3 separate regions of the Homo sapiens genome follow, and regions 1 and 2 are each linked to region 3. The links are contacts of gene promoters, found by promoter capture Hi-C in blood cells and fetal thymus (Javierre and others, 2016). All regions are on one chromosome and are shown on one strand. The core of a region is centred on a gene start or on the middle of the fragment in contact, and the rest is flanking DNA. Distances in the headings are between cores, read along the strand shown. Region 1 has its middle 6.3 kb from the start of UBE3A. Region 2 holds the start of SNRPN (small nuclear ribonucleoprotein polypeptide N). Region 3 holds the start of NIPA2 (NIPA magnesium transporter 2).

What was found. The method cuts DNA at HindIII sites, captures the fragments that hold promoters and counts their contacts. A CHiCAGO score of 5 or more calls a contact.
Region 1: a contact is called between a fragment that was not itself captured here and the fragment with the promoter of NIPA2 in region 3, in 4 of 17 cell types (total CD4 T cells, fetal thymus, total B cells and 1 more). The highest score is 10.0, in total CD4 T cells.
Region 2: a contact is called between a fragment that was not itself captured here and the fragment with the promoter of NIPA2 in region 3, in 2 of 17 cell types (fetal thymus and non-activated CD4 T cells). The highest score is 10.4, in fetal thymus.

What each region holds. Positions count from the first base shown.
Region 1 is chr15:25,443,059-25,447,598 of GRCh38, forward strand. No RefSeq gene overlaps it. Among named protein-coding and RNA genes, the nearest start is that of UBE3A, 6.3 kb to the left of the region's middle. The HindIII fragment of the contact is 172 bases long and covers 2,444-2,615 here.
Region 2 is chr15:24,954,629-24,959,098 of GRCh38, forward strand. It overlaps SNRPN (small nuclear ribonucleoprotein polypeptide N), which reads left to right and starts at 359. Exons shown (of 10, transcript NM_003097.6): 1 at 359-434. SNURF (SNRPN upstream open reading frame) reads left to right here and starts at 359. Exons shown (of 3, transcript NM_001394334.1): 1 at 359-434. The coding sequence starts at 421. The region is part of intron 4 of SNHG14 (small nucleolar RNA host gene 14); the gene reads left to right. RefSeq lists enhancers at 774-1,339, 1,340-1,905, 1,730-1,889, 1,906-2,471, 2,160-2,209. The HindIII fragment of the contact is 1,262 bases long and covers 2,115-3,376 here.
Region 3 is chr15:22,836,418-22,841,273 of GRCh38, forward strand. It overlaps NIPA2 (NIPA magnesium transporter 2), which reads left to right and starts at 2,249. Exons shown (of 8, transcript NM_030922.7): 1 at 2,249-2,504; 2 at 3,238-3,373. RefSeq lists an enhancer at 2,146-2,375. The HindIII fragment of the contact is 4,457 bases long and covers 61-4,517 here.

The DNA.
Region 1 (4,540 bases), core at 1,280-3,779, 2.6 Mb after region 3:
GTTAAATTTGAGATACCTGTTGGATATCTGTTGTACAAACTGCTTCCTAGCTGACTCTTATGCATTCTGCTCTTTATCCATGATAATAGAACATCTAGCCAGACACATGGTTGCCTATAATACACCCTTAAGTGTGGCCATATCTCTTAAGTTCTGGCCAGTAGGATGTGAGCAGAAATTATGTATGCAACTTCCAGATCATTTTCTAAAAGAAATTGGGTGTCACTTGCCCTTTCTTTTGTCCTTTTCTGATGAATGTATGTATTAAATAGTTGGGGTAGTAAACCATGTTGAAAGATGCTGTGGTTTCAATGATGGTGTCCCCTTCAAAATTCATGTTGAAACTTAATCCCCATTGTGATGATACTAACAGCTGATGAAATCATGAGGGCCCTGCCTCATGGATGGATTAATACCTTGTAAAAGGACTGGAGGGAACTAGCTTAGGCCTTCTTTTGCCCTTCCATCCCTTTAGCCACACGAGGACACAGCATTCACCCCCTCCAGAGGATATAGCAGTAAGGTCCCACCTTGGAAACTGCAGCCCTCACCAGACACTAAACCTGCTGGGGGTCTTGAGCTTGTACTTCCCAGCCTTTAGAACTGTGAAAAAGTATATTTCTGTTCTTCACAAATTTCCCAGTTTCAGGTATTTTGTTACAGCAGCATAAACAAGACTAAGACACTGGGAAACATTCTAGGGATTGCAGAGCAACAAGTTGGGGCCCTGAGGACTTCATTGGGCAGGTCCTGTGTACCAGGTCAACTCTGATGTAAGACAGCTACTAACTTCTATGATCTGCCATGGTTATTCTAAATCCCTTTAACTGCAGCTGACCTTGTGTCTTAATATCCAAGCAAAGATATCAGGAGGCAGTTGGATGTGGAAGTCTAGAGTTAGAGGAGAATGAAACCAACTCATCTTACATTCTTTGACTTGATTGGTGACTCTACCATCTATGGCGGTCCACAGTCATAATAATGGTAGCAATCCTGGATTTCTTCCTTTCCCTCACTCTCCTGGCAATTAAGAGGCAAAGTTGTATCTCTCTAAAGAATTGGCTTTAGAATTAGTGTAGCAAAGTAGCTGAGAGCACAGGCCCCCAACTTACTGGCAAGTGCACAGATACCAGGCAAGATTGTAAACCCCTTTCTGATTTAGTTTCCTCATCTATAAAATGGAGGTGTAGGGATTAAGTGTTAATGTACATAAAGTTCTTAGAATAATGCTGGGCACATAGTACAACTCAACAAAGGCAGGCTTCCCCCCGCCCCACGCAAATCCCAGTTCTGCCAGTTACCAGAAATACAACCTTGAGTACCTCAATTGGTGTCTGTTTCCTCTTTAGGAAAGTGGGAAAAAATAATAGTACCATCCTCATAGGACCATTGTAATCCTTCATTCATCTATTCAGTACATATTTATTGAATGGATATGTGCGAGCACTGTTATCAGTGCTGAGAATACAGCAATGAACAAAAACAGTCTACCTTCATGGAGTTTGTGATCCATGGAGGAAGAAAACCAACACATATGTGTTATGTCAGAATATGATATGTTAAGGAGAAATACAAAGCAAGGCAAAGGGAATAGGGAGTGCTACAGGAGTTCCGTCATGCCGAGTGGCCAGGGAAGATCTTATTGAAAAGAATTCGTTTAATCAGAGGCTTGACAGAAGTGAGGAATGAACTGTGGAAATACAAAGGAAACAACCTTCTAGACAGAGGGGGCCCTGAAGCAGAAAGGTGCCTAGAGTCATCTAGGAACAGTAGCAAGGCGTTGTGGCTAGAGAGAGAAAGGAGGAGTTGAAGATGAGCTCAGAGAAGTCACAGTGGGTCACAGCCTGGAGGACTTTTTAGCTTTTCCTAAGAACTTAGGTATTTGTGCTGAATGAGGTGGGAAGCCTCTGGAAGGGTTTGAGAGAGTTATGACAAGATCCATAGAATAACTCTAGCTACTGTGTGGAGAATGGACAAAGATAGTGCATATGAGGTGTTTAGTGCCTGACACATGGGAGGTGTTCAATAAATGGTAATAAGCAATATCATCATCATCATTATCATAACATCCATTTCCTTCTGTATATTTCCACTGCTACTACCTTAATTTAGACCCTTAGTGTTTAGACCCGTTGTGTTTCTGAACTAGACTGTAAGTTCCAGAAGGGTAAGATCATATTACCTCATTCACTATTTTAACCCCAACATTCAGAGAATGCTGGTTCATATTATACTACTTTCCTGCCAAATGTCCTCATCACAGTATGTTTTCTTAAGAAACATGTGTTATCACCTTGCTGCCTTTCTTAACTCTATCAGTGGCTCACCATGGCCTTCTGAATAATGTCTAAACTCCAAAAACGGCCCATTGGATGTGGCCTCTGCCTCCATTCCAGCCCCATCTCCCACTTCCCACATGAATGTATTGCTTAGGCAATACTTAAGCTTGAGAGTCATTTGGAGCTCTTTTGCATGCAGTTTATTCTACCTTTTAGACAAGTTCAAGCTCCTCCTCTGAGAAGCCTTTCAGATCTACTCAAGGAGGGTCATTGCTTATACCTCTGTGTGCCCTCCGCATACTCGATGTATGTGCTTAGCACTTCTGTCTTCTCTTAAGCTTCTTGAGAGAGGAGAGCACCCTTGACTTCTTGTGTTCCCAGTATCTATCTCAATGGCTAAAACCTGGTAACTCCTCAAAAAAGGTTTGAATGAGTGAATCGGGCTTTGTGAGTGTAAAAGTTAAGAACTGAGACCAGCATGTCTAATAGAGGGCCCCTTTACTGAGCTAACATGTAATAAAGTAGTGTATCTTTGAATGTTTCATTTTTCAGCTATGTCAAGTAGAGATACAAAGTGCAGTAGTGCCTGCTTATACAATTCAGTGGGAACAGAAAAATCAGGCAAATGAAATAAATGTAAGAAATCTTAACTTCTTGTCAATTCCAATAAATATGCAACAATAAAGTATTTTAATTAGAACCGTGGTATATGAAGTATAAAATTAAGATATTGAACAAGATGATCTATGAAGTCCTTCTAAAGCTATGACTTTTTCAACCACCAATTTCACGAATTGCCTCTATAGCCAAGACTACACAAGAAGTTACTGGAGCAAAAACCTGGAAGTCTATCAAATCATGCTTTGACCTTGGTCATCCCAATCTCTTTGTGCCTGTCTTAACCCAGCTGGAGAGTAGGTGGAAAAGGGAAGCATTTCATTGAACACCAGCTGCTGCTGCTGCTAATCTGAGCTGTTCTGAATAAAACAGTTCCACTTGAATCAATGAAGCAGCCCTTAGAAATTGTTTCTTTCTGACATGCGCATCATTTGAGTTATTTGAAGTCATTCCTACTACAGTCCATATCTCTAATTCCATTTTAAATACGTATCATACTGATTCTAACACAGACTCTAACAAAATGATTTTTAAATCTAAGGAAATGCATTGATTCAATTAAATCTTAGTATTAAAGATGGTACAGACATTCTACACTTATTGTTTTTCTTCAGAATCTCTCAACTGAAAAAAACATCTGACTAGGGAAGAATCATGAGTATCATTTATAATTGATACACTATTTTGTTTTAGTACTGCTTGAGGCCCACATACAGAACACAAAATTCTGTTATCAAAATGATAAATGTTACTATGTGGATTCTTTGGCATTGCTTCAAACAAAATTTTATACTTAAAGTCTGACTTTTTAAAATTATTGATTTTACTTTTATTTTGTAACATTAAATTAGCATACTACATATGGAAAGACCAAGATTTTTAAAGATAGTAATATAGTTATCATTTATGACATACAAATTTTATATTGCTTCTTTTTTTAAGTTACTGCTAAGCATAGTACTGATTGCATCCATATTTCAGTACTTACCACAAAGTTCCTGAAAGGACAGTACATTTCTGCAAATTAAATTTGTACACTCATTAGGTGCCAGTTGTTTAAATAAATCTCATTAATTCATACAACATTCTTGGATATTATATACTTTATGGATTAGAAAATTGAGCTTAGAGTAAGTAAGCAACTTGCCCATGTCTTACAGCTAAAAACTAGTAGTGCTAGGATTTAAACCCACAGGTGTATGTGTGTGCGCTCTTATTGTAGCATGTTGCTTTCCTAGAAAACAAAAATTTCAAAAATATATTTCATTGAAATGTTTCCTCATTCAATAATCCCTTTTTTCATTGCTTCGTAGCAATCTTATAATATACTCAAATTATTACCCCAGCAGAAAACTCATTTTTTATACTCTCCATTCAAGACTGGGCATCTGGGAGTCTCAGCCATCTTCATCTGCCATCAGTCCTTTCCAGCACTCTGTCCTGATTATGTGATACTGAGTCAGCTACTTAATTTATTTCAACCTTGATTTCTTCATTTGTAAAGGGGATAATACTGTGATGAGAAAAGAGATAACATGTTGCTAAGGACTTATTTTGTGCCTTAAGGACTTATTAATAATTGATTAAGCTCAATAAATGATGAATGAATGGACGAAGTTGTCTTAGTTTGTGTTTCTCACGAA
Region 2 (4,470 bases), core at 1,496-3,995, 2.1 Mb after region 3:
ACATAGGAAGACCTGAGGGTGAGTGTAAATTAGGATTGTTTGGCCAGTGGTGTGTGCAAAAATTTATTGTAGAACCAAGAATTATTTCTTTAGTATTTTACACATTTTAAAAAACAGGTAGACATGTCCATTGATCCCAGGTTGCTTATGGTTTCTAGAGGCCCCCTCTCATTGCAACAGTGCTGTGGGGCCCTAGGGGTCCAGTAGCCCCCTCCCCCCAGGTCATTCCGGTGAGGGAGGGAGCTGGGACCCCTGCACTGCGGCAAACAAGCACGCCTGCGCGGCCGCAGAGGCAGGCTGGCGCGCATGCTCAGGCGGGGATGTGTGCGAAGCCTGCCGCTGCTGCAGCGAGTCTGGCGCAGAGTGGAGCGGCCGCCGGAGATGCCTGACGCATCTGTCTGAGGAGCGGTCAGTGACGCGATGGAGCGGGCAAGGTCAGCTGTGCCGGTGGCTTCTCTCAAGAGACAGCCTGGGGAGCGGCCACTTTTATTCATCAGATATTCCAAGTTTTTAGGACTTGGAGTACTGAATAAACGGAATTTGGGCCCTAAAGTCCTTTGTTCTGGAGAACCAGATCCGGAATGTTCAGAGGCTTGCTGTTGTGCCGTTCTGCCCCGATGGTATCCTGTCCGCTCGCATTGGGGCGCGTCCCCCATCCGCCCCCAACTGTGGTGTCGCGACAGGTCCTATTGCGGGTGTCTGCGGTGGGAAGGGCGGTGGTGACTGGGAGCATGCGGGGTAACCGCAGTGGGCAAGGGACATGGGTGGAGGTGGGTACATCAGGGTGATTGCAGTTCCGTGTGGCGAGGGTACGTGGGGGGACCAGTGCATAGGGATTTTAGGCGGAGGTAGGTATATTGGAGTGATTGTGGCGGGGCGAAGGTACGTGAAGTGATCGGTATTTAGGGGGTGTTGAGCGCAGGTAGGTGTATAATAGTGACCACTGCGTGGTGGAGCAGGGTACGTGGGGCGACTGGGGGGGGAATTCGTCGCAGTGACCGAGGCGAGGAGGCTATGGCAGTGGACCAGGGGGATGAGTCGGTGTGACAGTGGTGGGGGTTGTGTTGGTGGTCGCGGCGCGGGGAGAGTCCGTAGGAAGTGGCTGGGAGGTAGGGGGAAGGCGGCGACAGTGGGTATTGGCGGCGGTGGGCATTGGCAGCGGGTAGGCATGGCGGTGGTGGACTTTGGCGGCGGTAGGCATGGCGGCGGTGGGCATGGCATGGAGGCGGTGGGCATGGCGGCCGCGGGGCCTGTCGCTGTCCGGAGTGACTAAGGGACGCTGAATGATTGCTGTGTAGAGGAGGGGGCATCAGAAGGGGCAGTAGCACAGTCCGCAGCCTTTAATTTTCCTGTGACCTGCGATGGTCATCTGGTTTGCCTACTGTGGTGGTGGTGCTTTTTTATTAAAACTGCGCAATGCCTACACTGCCGCAGGGGCTGCAGAAATGCGTGGAATCCTTGCGTACCCTTTAGGAACCCTCGCTTTAGAGGCTATGGCATAAGAAGACTGGAATGATGTGCAGAACTTGCATTTACAGATCTTTTGACTGATAGGCCAGGTGATGCCTGGGGGTTACTTTTTTTTCATTGTTTCTCTCTGTTGGGAACCAGGTCTTGGAAGGCTATGTCGAAATAACCTGGGGGTCTGTGTTGCGTCACTGCCATTGTGCAGCTCCTTCAAGATGGCCGCCGCTGCAGCGGCTTAGATCTGCGCAAGCGCTTCAGCGGGGGGGTGGCCGCTTCCTCCCTGTAGAGCCGCCAGTGGGGAGGGGGCAGGTGGTGTGTGTTCAGCTTCTGCTGTTTCGGAGTTTCAGCCGTACCCTCTTTAGGGTGCAGTGGTAAGGAGAGGAAGCCGGCCAAGGTGGGCGGCTGCCCCCTCCCCAAAGTGCTGCTTGGGAAAGGATGCAGGTTGCGCAGACGCAGCAGAGGTGACAGTCGCCTCCGCTTGCAGTGGGGCGAGACGTGGGGCAGGGGAGCGAGGGCTTACGCAGCTTTTGCCTGGAAGGAATGGCAGCCCTCCCCTTCACCTGGCTGATACAGCAGCTGTTCCTTTCCGGTTGTGGCGCAGTAGAGGGGGGAGGAGGGAGATGGGTTGGCGCAGGCTCCGCCTAGCAAGCTTGGCAGCCACCCCTTACCCACGGTGCAGCAGTAGAGGACTGGAGGGGAATGTGGCTAGAGGCCAGGCATTTGTACCACCTCCGCCTGTGTGGGATGGCAGCTGCACTGGGCTACTGCTTTTCAGCTCTGCAGTAAACTAGAGTGGTGGCGGCCTGGAGGCCATCAAAGGTGCAGCCACCCCAAGACCTGCTGTGCTGTTTCAGCAAGCCTCCATTAATGATAGAGATTTTAAATTGGTTTTCTGACTCCCTGGAAAATCGTACCTTTTCATTTTTGTAGTTCCTCTCTTGGTTGTATTGTGCGCTAATTCTCTATTTTCAAACTGGACTTGTTAACCCCTTTTTTTTAACTCCCTGTAGTCTTTGATTTCCATTCGACACATTTAATAAATGTCACCATTTAAGATTCAGTTATCCTTCTTAATCTCTGGATAGTCCATTCTGATGCACTGCATACTTTCCTTAAATGGGTTGGGGGAGAGGACATCGTGATGGCTCTTCCCGACTAAGGTTGAAAGGTGTTTCAAACACTGGACCTCTTCATCTTCTGGGAGTTGAAAGCTGCAAGTTTTGTGCTCAAAGAGAATAAAAGAGAAAAGTGGAGACAATCTTATTGGGGTGGGGTTGTGCTTTGGATCAGTTACTGTCTTTTTTTGGATTTTTAAATTAATGATCATTTTTGAAGTTGGAGCTACTACAAAAATTTGGTGAGAAAGGTTAATGAATAACTGCATTTTTATATTCCAGTACTTTTTTAAAAAATCATTTTATTCTAAGGATTTTGTCTTCCTTTGCAGGATTTTCAGTGCTTGCCTTTTCTGTATTTACATTTTCCCTCTATCATAACTGGTATGTCTGGTTGCACTGAGTTGTAATTAACAGAAAAGTTAAATCTACGAAGCCCGAAAAGCCTTGTTCTGGAATAATCTATTTTTGGGTAGTTTTAAAAATAGCAGGAGTCTGGGATTTTATATGATATTTATAATTTACCCTTTTTTTTCTGCTTGCATGAAGATAGCAGTTCACATACATATATTTCTTGGTTTAACTTCTGGTCATTTGGCTATTTGCAAGCTGAGTATTTAGTCTGATCCGCCATTTTGTAGTCTTGCATTCAGGCCCGGGATCCTAATATGGCAGATCCCTTTGGAAAGGCCTCTTGAAGTTTCAAGGTCTGTGTCCTACTCAGTGAATTGGCTCTGTGCTAGGGCTTTTTGGAGGCAGGGAGTGGCAGCCCTTCCTGTGATGCAGAGGAAGGAAGCTTGGTTGAGAGACCCTTATGTTGTTGTCTAAGGCAGGGTACTAACTGATTTGGATTTATTCACAGACCTTGCCTTATCTTGATTTCACTATTCTATCTGACCAGTGTGTCATTGCCGAAATGTTTTCCACATTTATAGTTACTCTGTATCTTTATGTTTCCCTTACCCTGTTCCTTTTCCTAATAAACATCTTTGTTTTACAAAAAATTTTGTTTATAAGGTGTCAAGGATGCCAAGATAACCTCCTTTGTTTATCAGCGCCCTCTGTTTAGCTATTTTTTAGGAAGAATCATTTAAGCAGGTTGTGAGTACTGCCCTCAATTACTTGGACAATGAAGTTTTAAAAATCTTATTTAGACCTGTCACTGGTCCTGTCTCCTTTTTTTTTTTTTTTGTGGCCCAGGGCCAGAAAGCTTGAGTGAGAATTGTTACTACTTAAGGTAGCCTCTCTCCATTTCTGGATGCTAGCTGGCTCAAAGTTTTTTTTTTTTTTTTTTTTTTTTTTTTTTTTTTAAATAGACCAGGGTCTCCCTATGTTGTCCAGGCTGAACTCGAACTGCTAGACTCAAGCTATATCCTCTCCCTCCTCAGTCTCTCTCTGGCCACTGTGGCTGGCCCAAATTCTCTTTTTGTTAATTCTCCTCAGATTTGTTTTGGAGGCAATGAGGTTTCTTATATTCATGGGGTACAGATTAGCAGCCTATCATTAACCTTATTTTTTTGTTTTTAGGAGACAGGGTCTGGCTATGTTGCCCAGGTTGGAGTGCAGTGATGCAGTTATAGCTCCCTGTAACCTCAAACTCCTGGATCAATCTAGACTCCTGCCTCAGCCTCCCAAGTGCCTGTTAGTACAGGCTTGAGGTACTGTGCCCAGCTAACTTTTTATTTTTTTGTAGAGAGGGGTCTCCTTATGTTGCCCAGACTGGTCTCGAACTCCTGGACTCAAGCAGTGCCCCTGCCTAGGCCTCCCAAAGTGCTGGCATTGCAGCCATGAGCCGCTATACCTGGCCAACTTTGTTTATTTTTATTCTTGAGATCTTAGTTAAATTTTATGGAAAATTTAGGCCGTAATAAAATTGGGATTCCATTGC
Region 3 (4,856 bases), core at 999-3,498:
GTAATAGGTCCTCTGAGCCAGTTTTAAGATGATTGCTAGGCTCACGGCAGATTAAAAGCTTTAAAATTAGAAGCTGCATAGTGACCTAAACCAAAACCAGAGTGGTCAGGGGCTGTGTATACAGTCTAGAACACAACAGTCCAATAGGATTAGAGCCTGAAAAGGACAAATGATATTTGGTGTTTTGTTTCAAAAAGTGCATAATTCATTTTATAAAGATCCTCCCCCCACATGATTTGAATTTCATATAATAGTGTTTTTGTGTCTAGTCACAACCTGGAACAACATTCCTAAGGGACTCTACACCTGCAACCAAGGAATCATTGATTTACTAGGAGATCTAACTCTAGCTGGCTACTCTTTGCTTCTTACAAATGAGCTCTGTCTTTGACTACTTTTGCAGAAACCACGTTGGTGGATCCCAAGGAATTTCTCCTTTCCAGGAGGAGCCAAGGCAGGATAGCCTAACAGTTAGTTTCCTATACATCTCATGAAAAATAAATCTGCGCTTTGGGAGGCTGAGGCGGGTGAATCACGAGGTCAAGAGATCGAGACCATCCTGGCCAACATGGTGAAACCCTGTCTCTAATAAAAATGCAAAAATTGGCTGGGTGTGGTGGCTCACACCTGTAATCCCAGCACTTTGGGAGGCCGAGGCGGGCGGATCACGAGGTCAGGAGTTCGAAACCAGCCTGGCCAACATGGTGAAACCCCATCTCTACTAAAAATACAAAAATTAGCTGGGCGTGGTGGTGTGCACCTGTAATCCCAGCTACTGGGGAGGCTGAGGCAGGAGAATGGCTTCATTGAACCCAGGAGGCAGAGGTTGCAGTGAGCCGAGATCGTGTCACTGCGCTCCAGCCTGGGTGACAAGAAAGACTCCGTCTTAAAAAAAAAAAAAAATTAGCCGGGCGTGGCGGCGCGCGCCTACAGTCCCAGCTATTCGGGAGGCTGAGGCAGGAGAATCGCTTGAACCGGGGAGGCGGAGTTTGCAGTGAGCCGAGATCGTGCCACTGCACTCCAGTCTGGCGACAGAGCGAGACTCTGTCTCAAAATCAATCATTCAATCAATCTGCTCTCAGTGTCTCGAGGCGGGCTTTCACCAAACGTCAACCTCACATCTATTCCGCGACCGGGTCAGTAAGGAAGGGCCCAGCGGTCGTCGAACTACCACAGCTATTTCGGCCCCGCCCCGTCCCGCCCCCAGCTTTGGACCCACCCTTTCCCCCGCTTCTTGCCCTCTTGGGAGCTCTGTTCCCCTTTGGCATCGCCCGGGGACACCAATTAAATGCAGCTTCACACTGTGACTGCCCCTGGGAACCCTCATTTTATTTTATTTATTTATTTATTTTTGAGAAGGAGTCTCGCTCTGTCGCCCAGGTGGAGTGCAGTGGCTGATCTCGGCTCACTGCAACCTCCGCCTCCCGAGTTCAAGCGATTCCCCTGCCTCAGCCTCTGGAGTAGCTGAGATTACTGGCGCGCACCAACACGTCCAGCTAATTTTTGTATTTTTAGTAGAGATGCGGTTTCCCCATGTTGGTCACGTTGGTCTCGAACTCCTGACCTCGTGATCTGCCCGCCTCGGCCTCCCAAAGTGCTGTGATTACAGGTGTGAGCCACCGCGCCCGGCCGGAACCCTCATTTATTCTATTTTTTTTTGAGACGGAGTCTCGCTCTGTCGCCCAGGCTGGAGTGCAGTGGCGGGATCTCCGATCACTGCAAGCTCCGCCTCCCGGGTTCGCGCCCTTCTCCTGCCTCAGTGTCCCGAGTAGCTGGGACTACAAGCACCCGCCACCACGCCCGGCTAATTTTTTGTATTTTTAGTAGGGGCGGGGTTTCACCGTGTTAGCCAGGATGGTCTCGATCTGCTGACCTCGGGATCCGCCCGCCTTGGTCTCCCAAAGTGCTGGGATTACAGGCGTGAGCCACAGCGCCGGGCCCGGAATCCTCGTTTTAAATAAGGGCCACGCCGGAGTTTGATTTTGAACTGATCGGCCAACGCCACCTGGCAGCATACTGTACTGCTTAACTACGCTTCCAGCTTCGTCCCTCGCCAGGTCCCGCCTGGATCCTGCGCCCCGCCCCCGTCCCCACACTCTACGCGCCCCGCCCTCCGCGCTCAGCCGACTGGGGCCTTGTAAAGGAACCGGAACCCGGCGGGAGAGAGCCCCGGGGGCGGGGTGTACGTGGTGCGGCACTGCGCGTGCGCGCGAGGCCTCTTGCGTCATTTAGCCGCGCCTAGGTTTTCCGGCGCCGGCCCTAGGTCCCGGCAGCGGTGGTGACGGCGGTGCCGGAGGTTGTCCTTGGCAGGTTTTCCTCGGCGCTTCTCCATGGAGGAGGCGGTGCGAACGGCTTCAGCCCCGAATGCTCGCATCTCCCACTGGACGGCGACGAAGGCGGTGGCCGTGCGAGCGCAGGACTGGGCGGCCTGTGTGGGGGTGTGAGCCGCGGTGCCCAAGGCTGCGCCGGCGAGGGGAAGCCGCGCGGCCGGCCGGCCGACTAGGGTGAGGTCGCCACTCCTTCCTTTCAGGCAAGCGCGAAGGGGCTGACTTGGTGGCGAGCCAGCCCGCCTTGTGTCGGAGAAGGGTTCTTCGGGCAACTTTCCTTTCCGGGTGTTCTGAAGCGGTTTTCCTGTAATCCTCAGTGAGGAAACCCACCGTGAATCGGATTGCCGTTCAGTCCCACGGAAGCCTGGCTCGTTGGCCATGTCGGGGACGCATGTTCATTAAGTTCATTAAAATAATTTCATTTGTCTTGGTGAGTTTTAGAAGGTGGCTTCAGCTGCTGCGGGGATCATAACTGACAGTTAAACAAGCCTTAGAAGTCTGCTGTGACGTTTTGAGCCTGACTGTTTTAATTTCCTTTTATAAAATCACGGAATCCTATTTCCCTCTCTATACAATTGCTCAAAACTGTGTGTTTAGTTTGGTGTTTGTGCCTCCTTAATTTCTTTTCTAGGTTGTTAGTTCATTTAATACAGGACTGCATGTTAAGTTCTGTTTCTAGAAATCCTGTGTATAGCCATGTGCCCGGTTAATACTTTTTTTAGTAAGAGGAAATATCAGAGTCGAGAGTTTCCATTCCAGTAAGCTGCCTGTCGAAGCAGTAGTTGTGCTCGATTGAGTAGGTTTTATGTTGATTGGTTGGCAAAATGAGTATGAAGGCTAGTAACCAAATTATAAAACGTACTTAGTAACTTTAAGTCTTTTGCCTACTTCTGTGTTTTCTTCTTTCTAGGCTGGAGCTACTCGGCCAGGGTTTAAGACTTTAAATGAGAATAAAGGGTGGTATTTACGAGGAAATGAGAGTGAATAAGTCATCTCTAACCTCTCCCAGCCTTTTTTTCATAAGAGAGACCATATTAAACTTACATGTAAGTTAAAATTGTAATTTATAACTAATATTGTTGCATAGTTAGGGTTGGAGATTTAGGTTCTGTAATATTTATAAGTACAGTACTGCTTTGAAAAATTATTAGCCAAGTGAGAGGTTGGAAAAAATTAAATCTAACATGTATTTAATTTTTCTGAGCCAAGGTCTTGCTCTGTCCCCAGGCTAGACGGTGCAATCTGGGCTCACTGCAACTTCCGCCTCCCGGGCTCAAGTGCTCCTCCCACCTCAGCCTCCCCAGCAGCTGGGACCACAGACGTGCGGCACCATGCCTGGCTAATTTTTGTATTTTTTTTAGAACCGGGGTTTCACCATGTTACACCGGCTGGTCTCCTAATTCTGGACTTAAGCGATCCAACCACCTTGGCCTCCAAAGTGCGGGGATTACAGGTGTGAGCCACCGAGCCGGGCCTAAGCTAACTTAGATAGCAGTGGAAACCAGGTAGTAAAGATTTCGTAGAAAACTAAGAGCTCTATATATAGTTTTTTTTTTTGTTTTTTTTTTTTTGAGATGGAATCTTGCTCTGTCACTCGGGCTGGAGTGCAGTGGCACGATCTCTGCTCACTGCAACCTCCGCCTCCTGGGTTCAAGCGGTTCTCCTGCCTCAGCCTCCGGAGTAGCTGGGGTTACAGGCGCCGGCGACCACGCCCAGCTAATTTTTGTATTTTTAGTAGAGACGGGGGTTTCACCTTGTTGGCCAGGCTGGTCTCTTAACTCCTGACCTCAGGTGATCCGCCCGCCTCGACCCCCCAAAGTGCTGGGATTACAGGCGTGAGCCACCGCGCCCGACCTAAGAGCTCTAAAGTGTTAATGTAATGTGGGCAGCCGGGTGTAGAAGTAAAGTCCCTTTCTGTGTGGTCCTCTGCATGTGACTCTTTTTTACCCCTGGGAGGTTTCCTTAGCTGTAAAGTGATACCTTCATCTTATTGCGTAGAAGAGAAATGAGTAGAAATGATGCATGGAATAGTGCCTGGGGAGGTGTTCAGTAAGTGGTAGCTATTGTTAGGGAGAGATAATAAAAAGAATTTCACATATTTTCAGAATGTTTTTAATAGGTAAATATGGTTTACTCATATTTAAAACACATGACTTTGAATATTACATTTTTTTATAGATGGTGTAAGCTTCATTTAAACTGATTTATTTGATTGCTATACATTGTGATATTGAACAGAAAGATAAGACTTCTGCAGAGAATAAAAGGTGGGGTGGGGGTGGGAGAGGAAATGGGAGATTTAGGTCACAGGATACAAAGTAGCAGATATTCAGGATGTACAACTTGAGAACTACAGCTAATGAAATTGTATTAGAGATTTTCCTTCAATGAGTAGATTTTAGCTGCTTTTGTCATAAAAAAGTAACTACATGAGATGATAGATATGTTGATTTGCTCTACTGTGGTAACTGTGTTAGTATCTGTATGTTTCCCATAACATAAATCTCAAATATACACAATTTGCAAAGA